Regions from separate parts of the Homo sapiens genome. Here region 2 is linked to region 1. The links are contacts of gene promoters, found by promoter capture Hi-C in blood cells and fetal thymus (Javierre and others, 2016). All regions are on one chromosome and are shown on one strand. Each heading gives the region's core, a stretch centred on a gene start or on the middle of the fragment in contact. The rest is flanking DNA. Distances are from core to core; before and after follow the strand shown. Region 1 overlaps RCAN2 (regulator of calcineurin 2). Region 2 holds the start of TDRD6 (tudor domain containing 6).

Evidence for each region. Contacts are between HindIII fragments. The CHiCAGO score rates a contact against its expected background, and 5 or more counts as called.
Region 2: a contact is called between the fragment with the promoter of TDRD6 here and a fragment that was not itself captured in region 1, in 1 of 17 cell types (M1 macrophages). The highest score is 5.4, in M1 macrophages.

The regions. Positions count from the first base shown.
Region 1 is chr6:46,417,678-46,423,396 of GRCh38, reverse strand. All of the region lies in intron 2 of RCAN2 (regulator of calcineurin 2), which reads left to right. Among named protein-coding and RNA genes, the nearest start is that of RCAN2, 71 kb to the left of the region's middle. The HindIII fragment of the contact is 9,849 bases long and covers 1-5,719 here.
Region 2 is chr6:46,685,664-46,691,247 of GRCh38, reverse strand. TDRD6 (tudor domain containing 6) reads right to left here and starts at 3,363. Exons shown (of 4, transcript NM_001010870.3): 1 at 1-3,363. The coding sequence starts at 3,119. TDRD6-AS1 (TDRD6 and SLC25A27 antisense RNA 1) reads left to right here and starts at 3,083. Exons shown (of 2, transcript NR_134643.1): 1 at 3,083-3,314. The HindIII fragment of the contact is 3,266 bases long and covers 958-4,223 here.

The DNA.
Region 1 (5,719 bases), core at 2,769-5,268:
TTTGTTCTATCCTCTACAATATTGAAAAGTGTAAAATACAAACACTATAGGATTGGCCATCTAGAGTCCTGGGTTTTAGACTTGGTCTGGTCTGCTATAATCAACAGTGTGATCTTAGACAAGCCACTTGGCCTCCTGGGACCCCAGTCTCCTCATTTGGAAATAAGAAGGCAAATTATCTTAAGAGTCCTTTCTTAGGCTGATTCTTGGAATCACCTAAACAATCCACAAATACTAGGACTTCCTGGAATAAAATTAGGAATCCAGATGGTCTAATACTAATGCTTAGACCCACTCCTTCACCAAGGCACTAGATACCCCAAATGAAACACCTGGACCTCCCCAGGAACCAAGGTCCTCTGGATCCTCTGGCCTGACAGTCACAGGAGGATGGTCTGAGATAAGTCTGTCTGGTCCTAAAGTAATGCATACTTGACAAGAAGTTGGTTATCTTGACATAGCATTACTCCTTGTGAAAAATGCCCTTGAGAGCTTTGTTTATTCTCTTCACCTCCTCATCAGTAGTACTGTGCTAACATTTCTGTTATTCATCATGTTTTAAAATTAGCTTCTTAATCCTCTTAATATTTTCAACTTCTCTGCCTTGAGATAGGCACCCAGCCTGAACTTGGTTTTCTGCAGCCTTTGTACAGCATATAAATAACAAGAATGGATTGTTCCCATAGCCTTGGCTTCTTCACTAAATTAACTACATTTACTCATTACTCTTATTTTTGTTCTTGGTGGAATAGACCTAAATTTTCTCAACTAAATTTGGCTTTGAAATTCTATGGTATGTTCTTTATCTCCATTCACTTTGATGTTGGTAGCTTTTTAAATCTGTTTGGAACATGTCTTCCTTCGTTTTTAAAAGCATCCCTTTTCTATGAGGCTTTGGCTTATTTTCTTTTTCTTTTACTAGCTTCTCTTTCTTCTCTACTCCCTGTCTTAGTCCATTTGTGTTACTATAAAGGAATACCTGAGGTTGGATAATTGATAAAGAAAAGAGGTTTATTTGTTGTTCTGCAGGCTGTATAGGAAGCATGGTGCCAGCATCCACTTCTGGTGAGGGCTTCAGGCTGCTTCCACTCATGGCAGAAGAAGAAGGAATACAGGGATCACAAGGCTAGAAAGGAGGCCAGAGAGGGCTGGGCCGGGGAGGTGCCAGGCTCTTTTTTACAACCAGCTGGCAGGAGAACTCTCGCAGGAACTAACAGTGAGAACTCACTCATCCCCACCACCCAGGGAGGATATTAATCTATTAGTGAGGGATCCTCCCTCATGACCCCAACACCTCCCATTAAGCCCCACCTCCAACACTGGGGATCAGATTTCAAATGAGATTTGGAAGAGTCAAACAAACCAAACTGCAGCACTCCCTAAGGCATCTATTCTTATGGTCCTATACGTAGCTCACTTCTTATTTCTAAATAATTATTTTCCTTGGAAATTATATTTACTAACAGTTTTCTATCTCCTTTAAGCAGATGATGTTTATGTTTTGATATTTATTTATTTTTATCAGCTGGTTACTTTCATCATTCATTAGCCATTTATTGAGTACCTATTATGAATTATGTACTGTGCTGGTACTAAGGATATAAAGATCAGTGACTTTCTCTACTTTTAATGAGTTCTAATGGAGTCTCATTGAAGTGACAGACACAGAGTTAGATAATGCCAACCCAATATAACATGCTAAACTAGGATGTTAAACAAACTGCTTTTGGAACCTGGAGAAGTGAGTAAATGACCTCTGAGGACTATCAAGGAAAGACTTCCTGGAAGAAAGGACATTGGCAGTGGGTATTAAAAGTTGAGTAGGAGTTTGTGAGTTGCGACATCTCCCAACTTCCTTCTGCTCTGTTCACTCTGATGTTTCACTGTCATCTTAAATTTAACATGTCAAAAGTCAAATTCTTTATCTTTCACCCTAAATTACTTCACTCACTTGAGTTTCCTATTACATTATTCTCTGAATCATCCTTTTGGCGTTTTTGTCTCTTTCCTCTCTGTTGTCCTGCTGTCAGCCACAAAGTCATCTGCGTGCTTTCTTCATTTTTTCATTCAGTTGTTCCCACTGCCCCAGACACTTCATACTCTGCCACCTCCTGTCTGGGTTATTACAGTGGACTCCAGCTGATTAATCTGCCTAAGTTTACTTTCCCCATTTAATCTGTTTTGTACATCATTGCCCATTGCTCTTTTTTTGGATATCAGTTTGATTCTGTCACTCATCTATTTAGAAATAATGGCAAACTGGCACTTGCTCAATGCTGGGATGGTTTGTGAAGTAATTTTAAAAAATGTTATCTCATTTCATTATCAAAACAACTTTGTGAAATAAATACTGGAACTTACTGAATATCCTCTAAATTTAGAATTCAGTAGTCTATGAGCTCCTGTAACCAGGGATGACATCATGTTCATCTCAGCCTCCTTAGTGCCTAGCACAGTGCTGATTCATAAATGATGTTAAAAACACATTATGGATTCACTCCTGCCTAGTGTCTGTGCATCTTTATGTGCCCAGTTAAAAATAGTTGATCAGGCTGGGTGCAGTGGCTCATGTCTGTAATCCCAGCTGTTTGGGGGGCCGAGGAGGGCAGATTACCTGAGGTCAAGAGTTCGAGACCAGCCTGGCCAACATGATAAAACCCCATCTCTACTAAAAGTACAAAAAAAAGTAGCCGGGCCTGATGGTGGGTACCTGTAATCCCAGCTACTTGGGAGGCTGAGGCAGGAGAATCACTTGAACCCAGGAGGGGAGGTTGCAGTGAGCCGAGATTGCACCATTGCACTCCAGCCTGGGAGACAGAGTGAGACACCATCTCAAAAAAAAAAAAAAAAAAGTTAATCAGAAGACATTGAAATGACATTATAAAAAATAACAGGACAGTTTTGCCAATATTTCCAGTGCTGATTCCACACCCTGCTCAGCAGTCAGAGAATCACTTCTTCATGCTGTGATTACTGCTGTTGCTGAACCGCTCTTGAGCCTGAAGATTCCTGATGGATTCTTAACAGTCAGTGCTATATAGATACAGAACCACTCCTTGCAAATAGCTCCCCTTAATGATGCAACCAAGACTCTTGCACACGGTAGTCTGTATTATTCTTAAAATCAGACTCAATTTAATTGTCTTGCATGGATTTTAGTGATACGATGATAACTAAAACATTTGTTTAAATGCTCTAGTCTTTCAGGTTTTGTTTTTTTTTTTAATGTGAGGGTTGTATGGCTTATAATCTGTACTCTGTTTATCTGCCTGTCTTAACTCCTAACTTCATAGGAAAACTGGTTGTAGAAGGGATAATATTAAATATACTTAAAAATATTAATGAAGTAAAATAATTTAAGTCTTGTCTGCGAGAATTTGAAATTTTAAATCTGACAACACAGTGAAAAGGATCTGTCTACTCTTGTCTGGCATGAACCAATTTGGGTAAAAAGACTACATGACTTTTTTGGTTGTTAATGTTTTTATGAAATCATAGAATATAATCTATACTGAATTTTGAAAGGCAGTTTGCCAACACGAAGAATAAATGAACCAGCAAACTATTTAGAAATGTGCTTGACTTATTTATGTTCTTTCTCAGCCAAAATGGTTTGAAGACGTGAGGCTTTCTTTCCAAGAGTCCCTGCTGCCATCTGCTGGTCTTCATTATTCAGCAGCCAACTTCTAAATGGAGTCTGGATGACATGGTTCCATGAGATATGATTTTCAGGGGAAAAATATTTTGTAATTTTATTATATTTTAAAAATAGAAGTAATACTAAATTGAGATTAAATAAACAAATAATCTGCTTAGAACAATTTATTTTTATAAAATCTTGGGCAAAAATTTAAAACAGGGTCCCAGGGAAAGTCATCTTTCTCATATTAACATGTACCTTCCGTGGATGAAATCAGGTGGTTTGAAGCTGTGATAGATTGGTTTTGAAGTGAAGCAAGCTCCAAACTCCGGTACTCTGTGTGTGGATGAGGAAGAAGTTGGAATATTGGGAGAAGAGCATACTAGGCCTTCTAAACCGGTGGTTCTCAAGCTCTAGCAGAATCAGAATCACTTGGAAGGCCTGTTTGAAAAAAGGTTGTTGGGCCTTATCTAGTGGTATACTATTAAATGCTTTACAACTGGCTTATTGGTTAAAAGGCCCTGATGTGTAGCATTTGCTGACTTCCATGGTGTAAATGCTCCCGCTGTGGCTGGTTTCAAACTTTCCACATGGCATCACTAAATGTAGGGTTGAGAAGAGATGTACTGTAGCTCACTATTACGTCGTATTTTCACCATATGCCTACAATATATGCACACGGCCTGAAGAGCACAGATTGTAGCCAAATTATGTTATTTTCTTTTTTCTTTTGGGCTTTTTTTTGCTATCTCGGCTCACTGCAGCCTCCGCTTCCCAAGTAGCTAGGACTACAGGTGTGTGCCGCCACGCCCAGCTAATTTTTATATTTTTAGTAGAGACGGGGTTTCACCATGTTGGCCAGGATGGTCTTGATCTCCTGACCTTGTGATCTGCCCACCTCGGCTTCCCAAAGTGCTGGGATTACAGTCATGAGCCACTGTGCCCGGCCAATCACATTATTTTCTAAAGAAGCATTGAATTTTGAGTATTTATTATTTCTGTCTTAATCCATTTACCTGCAACTGTATATATATATATATATATATATATATATATATATACACACACACATATTTTAGAGATGATTATATTTAACAATCAGCCGATAAAATTCCTGGAAATTTAAGCCACTCCCCCAGAGTGGATGGGAGCTGGCTCCTAGCACATGACTAGTTCCACCTGTAGAGTGTCTGGTGTGGGTCAGTGGGTCTGGGGACACTGAGACTGGTCAGACGAGAATGACAAAAAGATCCACGTAGTCATTAAAGGGTGGTTACAAGGCACTGATTGTAAGGAGGGGTGGGATATGAAATCCAAATTTTGTAAGGAATTGAGGACGTGGAGCAAGTTACTTTGATTCTGGATGGCGAAAAAGTGGCAGCTTTAATGATTAGAGGGCTGAATGAAGTGGAAGAATTTTTGGAAGGGTCAGAGAGGAATATTTGAAGTGTTTATTATTTCCGTTTTAATTGATTAACTTGCACATTTATATAACTTAGTTTTTAGTGATGGCTTTAGAGTTTTAAAGTGTTTGCTTTAAAAATTCAGGTTGTTTGTCTCTGACCTTATAATGGACGTTAGATACCTAAAGTATAAGATATTTTGTTAAGATAATGTTATATTACTATATTATCATAATTTTCCTTTCTTGAAGTTTAAATAAGGATAGTGATAATAATCTCATATATGATTAATGTCAAATGATGTACAAAACAAAGGTGGGATTTGTGAGAGAACATTGGCATTTGCACCAGACAGCTGGATTCAAGTTTCAGATTATTCATTTAATAGCTGTGTGACTCTTATCACAGTAAAAATAAATAAACAAATCTAAGCCTCAGTTTTCTCATCAGTGAAATAGATCTAATAGCTTCTGCAATTAAGTATTGCAAAAATTAATTGTGTGTGTAAATTACCTGGCACAGTGCCTGGCTCTTAGGAAATGGCAGCTTTATTTTTATTGTAGTAGCATTAGACCTGTCACACAAATACTTAAGACAGCGTTTTAGTTCGTTTCTCTGAAATACACTACCCCCAAATGAAATTGAATATGTTGGATTATGTCGATAAGATTATATA
Region 2 (5,584 bases), core at 2,114-4,613, 270 kb before region 1:
CACAAGGTTCCAGGGTTCAAGGGAGATGTTTTTAAATTCAGCAAAACTTTACTTAATTGTGTAATACTACATGACAACTGTTCTAAAATATTTGCATTTCTTGCCAGCTGGCAATAAAATGTCCAAGGGTCATCAATATGCGTTATATAAACTAATTCTTCACTTCCAATTTTCATATCATGTGTAGAATAGAAGTAGGAATGTAGCTGAACAGAGGACTCCAAAGGCTTCTGAAGTTTTACTGGTCTTGCAAGTCTCTTTTCTACCAAGAAATGGCATGCACTCTGAAAGGGGGTTAGCAAATCCACAATGTTAAACAGTTCTTCATTAATTGAAGCCAGAGCAAATATTGTACATTTTAATTCTAGATTTTTTTGCCATGCATTATCTATAAATTCATTGAAAGCTTGTATTGCCTTTACATCCCAAACAAAGGGATTCTGGCCAACTGGTTGAATTAAATTATAAAGACTGCACCTAAAAGCCTGTGCCTTAACCTTCAGAAATTCTTCACTAATTGAATAAATATTCTTCACAGATACCATTTCTCTGTCTCCATAATCTACAAATGTTACATTGACATGCTCCACAGACTGTATCCCACTAATAAGTGCTCTGGACCACTGTCTGTTTACTGTTCGCTTAGCCAAACAAGCAAGGGTGTTTCTCTGGTGAGGAGCAGCTGTATTTTTGCAATAGTACTGAATATCAGACATTAGAGTTTTAAGTCCTTGTATGTTCCTGGTCAGCTGACACCAGAAATAGCCAGGGTTTTCAACATAAGACACTCTGACTTCTACTGTACTTCCAACTTCCAGCTCTCCTTTACTAGAGGAGCCTGGCTTAATTTCCAAGCAATTCTGCATAAGAGGAAAATAAACAGATGCTCTTTTCACTTTTTCCTGCACAACTAGTTCAGTTGAACCATTTGTTACAACTGTTGTGTCACTCAAAGCTTTTGAAACAGATGTGGTTTTATTCTCTCTCTTGGCTTTCTGCTCTCCTTCTCCAGTCTTGGCAAAAGGTATTTTGTTACTCTCCGTAGTAAAGTGGTTTGAAACATGCCCTGGGGAGTGGGCATTTACCAGGATATTTTCCTTTGTTTCAAATTCCTGATACTTGGCATATCCAGCTTGGGCAATTACCTTACTAATGTTTTCTTCCCCTGTTCTTGATTCGTCAAGAATCTCAATAACATATTGATGATCCTGTTTATCAAGAATATGGATGACTAATTCTTTGTGGAGCACAGTCTTTTTAAAAAAGGAAACTGCCTCCTGGCTCCAAGTTTTTCCCAAAGGCCAAATATCAGCCAGGGTGCACTTCACAGCCAATATTGGTAGCTGCCTAAACTGAGGAAGCAGCATCCTTACGTCATACCAGTCCACATTTTCCGAATTGCCTCGGTCAACTAAGAATACATCCACACTCTTGTCATCCAATTTGGTGACTATGGCCCTATAATAACCATTTTCTTTCCACTTGACACAGCAAAGGTCATCAGGTTCAGGTTTCAAAACTACACCATCCAGCTTACTGGCAGAGGAATAGAAACCACACATTCTCCTCATCAGCTTACTGAAGGTGACATTGTGTTTCCTCAACCTAATCCAAAACTCAGAAGGATTTTTAACAAACTCTACCTGCGCATCGTAGAAGGCATTCATCTTTAACCTGATAGATCTTAAGGCTGGGAGTGAAATCTCTTCATCTACTTCTTCAGCAGGAGACTGAGACTGAGATGTTTCTGGTTCCTCCTCCTCTGTTGCCTGGCTCTGAAGGACTCGGTCAGCCAAGCAACACGACTGTACTCCAAACACACGGTTCAGATTAATCCCATCTTCTCCATACAGGCTGACATAATACACATGCTCAAAGGAGCAATAAAATTCAATCTTTGCATTCACTGCCTTGCCTAGTATCAGTGTCTTCAGGTCACCGACCTGTGACCGAGACCAGCCTCTCCCACCGTCCCAGAGTCCATACAAAGCACAAGGGTAGGTCACCACCGGCATTCGAAAATATTCAGGCAGCAAGTACCGAAGGCTGCTGCAACTCACTAACTCCTTCCTTCCATAGTCCACATGAAGCACCTGGGCACAGCGCTGGGGCCGAAAAGTCTCAAGCAACAGTGCTCTGTACCAATGTCCATCCAGGCCACAGGATGCACACGGAGAGCCCGGCTTATCTGGGCTCTCCTCCCTCTCCTCCCAGGTGGCACTGGTAGAGTTCTCATCCCCTGTCCCCGTGGAACCCCGGTATACCTGGGCCATGCTCTCGGAGAGGCGGTGGATCTCCTGCGAGACGCTGCGGAGCTGGCAGTGAATGCGGTGGGGATGGCACACTTGGGTTATGACCACGGCCTCCGTCACGCCCAGCTGCAGCTGGGGATAGAAGTAATCCAGACCAGGCTGCTTTTGCTTGAGCGGGACTCGCGAGAGAACCGGGACCCCGGAGCCCACGCTAGCAGTGGCCGCTGTGAGATAGCGCTCCAGCAGCGAACGGAAGAGGCTGTCGGGCACCCGCCGAGCCAGGCCCAGCTCCCGCATCTGTTGGAACACATCAGGCACCTCCAGGAGGACCAGGCGATGGAGCAGCAGCACGTCCAGGACGCACCCGTGCACCTCCTTGCCCTGAAGGTTGCTAAGGAAGTCCACGGCGTCGGCGGGCCAGTGCTGCGGCGGCTCGCCTGAGCCCGCGCCGCAGCCTGCCGGCACCAGGCCCGCTAGCACGCAGCCCAGCACTTCCGAGGGCAAATTGAAGAACTCTCTGCGCCCAGGCGCCAGCGAGCCTGCTCCGGCCGTGATGGTGCGGCCCTCGTCCAGCAGGAAGACACGGCTCTCCTGTGCCTGCCGGCTGACCACGCGGCAGCGGTGCCACAAAAGCCCGACCTGCACCAGGCACAGCTCGCCGGGCGAGGCCGAGGCGCTGCCCAGCGCCCACTGGCCGCGCGTGGCCGCCGCTTCCTGGATTTCCCGGCTCAGCCGCAGGTACTCGCCCCGCCGCTCGCCCACCAGCCCCCACAGCTGCACCGGGATCACATCGGGATGCACGTCCACGAAGGACACCCGCAGGGCCAGCGAGGCCCCCGGCGCCGGCATTCCGGGCGTCGAGCACATCTTGACGGCGCGGCGCGGCCCCCACTTCCGGAAATTAAGGGCCGCGCCTCAGGGCCTCGAAATCCTCCGCGCCGCCTGAAGGCGAGTCCCAGCCAAACTAGGTTCAAAGGACCCAGTGGAGGGGAAGAATGCCGGCGAGGCCTTTTCTCGGCAACTCCCCCGTCGAGGGTCCTCCGGGACTCCCGCCACGGACTGGTAAGACCCGGTAGCCCCTCCAACCGCCCGAGGTCGCGCTTCCGGGCACGCATTTACCTCACTCGGCGCCGCCACTTCCGGCCGCGGAGAGTGGGCGGGGCCAGCCGAGGCCTGGGGTTGGCCTAACGCCTAAGGGCCCAAGGAGCTTGTTGGGACGTTCAGGAGACCCCGAGGTGGGAGGTTTTGGACACAACCTGCATCTCCTCAGAGCGCCTTCGACTCTGGAGGCCGCCGTGTGACGGCCTGACACAGGGCTGCGGTGAGGACCGACCAGAGAGGGATTTCCTTTTCGTCCTCCCAACTACCAGGGATTGAGCACTGGGGGCCAGGCAAGGTACTAGCCAGTGGCGTTCCCGACGGGAACGAGAAACGCAGGAGCCAATGGCACGTTCCTAGGCGTTAAGGCCGGAACTCTAGGAGGGCCCTGGGTGCTGCTGCGGGGCACGGGTGCTCCTGCTGGCTCAGTGTGTCCGTGGACAGCCAGGTGCTCAGCCTCTATTCTTTAACCCTGTTCCATCATCTGAATTGATAAGAGTTGTTATGAGGTTAAAATAACGTGTGAAAGTATATAGCAACTGGTACATATTTCCCTTCCCACACTTAGCTGATACGGGTTCCTTTGCTCCTTTGCTGTCTAACTCTGGCATCCCAATTTTGAAGGCATTTTCATTTACTCACAGAGCTAGCACAGAACTGGATTCATAAAAGGAGGCCAAGAGGAATGGAATCAACATTCCTTCAAGCCCCTGCTGTATATACTAAAATCTTAACAGGATAACCCTTTGAGGCCTCTGTTAAATGTCCAAACCTCCATTTGGAATGGAAAAGTGCAGGCAAACTAGAAGTTTCCAGGATATGTCTACATTAGATTTTTGTTCATTTGCAAAGTTAGACACATCCGTGGAAGCTTCTTATAGTCTGCCTGTACTTTTCCTTTCATTCCACGTTTCGAAATGTCATTACATACAAATACAACAAGGCAGTGCTTCAAATGACCCTGGCCTAACTGTAAATCTCAGTGTCTTCAGTCTGTCCAGATTAGAGGCAACCATGTGCTTCCACATCACCCTATGCTTACTTTTTCACGGCACTTTTCACATTGTGTGGCAACTGTCTGATCTCTATCATCCCACCAGCCGACAGGTTCCCTTTGGCAAGTACCGTTTGTTGGATTCTCGGAATCTAGCTTGGAGTGAAGGCAATGAATATTTGCTAAATGAATATGAATGAATGAATGAATGAATCCAATTTCTCTAAAAGCCAAAGCTTTTCTTTTCCTGAAGAACTCATCCTTGAAAACTCAATTTTCCCATTTTTTTTCTAATTGTTTCATATTCATTATGGAAGAAAAACATTTTATTTAAAAACATCTAGCAAGACCTAGCTCAAACGTCGTTTCCTCGTGACCCTACTATTCAACCTGGCAGAATTGGTTATTCCTTTTTTTTTTTTTTTTTACATACTTCTATATTATTATATTTTGTAGCTCTCTGTTTGCCACAGTAGGAACATCTTAAAAGCAGGAACACTTCTCATTTATTTTTATGTTCTCGATGCCTAGCCAGTGCTGGACTGTTAGCATCCAGTAAATCTTAACAAGAGTAAGCAATCTAACACTATGGCCTTTACAGTGGAAAGAAGGAATTCATTATAAAATGGTCTTATGATCACTTGAAATTGTTTTATCATTACATGGAATAATGGAGACTTTAATCCATCATCTATTTCAGGTTCATGTAGTATAACCAAACTCCTTTGTAGACCACAGGGTTGTAGATATTATGACTTTCTGTATTTCATTTGTCCTCCAACCTCCTTCCATGGCTCATGGCCTTAATCCTAGGACGTCAGGGTATATCACGTGGCCGTTATGGGCTGATCTGAATCCTTTACCCCCATCCACCCAGATTTTCCAATGTCCTACCTTTTCTGTATCTGGAGCAGGTAGCATTAGTTTGTTCTGTCATGCTCTGCTGTTGGACAGGGACTCGGGTTAATTTTAAAAATCAGGTCATTGCACTGTTAAGATTAAGCTCCCCTCATATATCTCCCATACTATATTAAACAAAATATCTTGAGTTTTATAATAAATAAACTTTCCTCCCATTAGTCTTGAGAGGCCCTTGGTTTCGGAAAAGAAGGGAGAGGGGATTTTTTTTTTATTATTATTGTACTTTAAGTTCTGGGACATTATGTACAGAACGTGCAGATTTGTTACATAGGTATACACATGCCATGGTGGTTTGCTGCACCCATCAACCCATCATCTA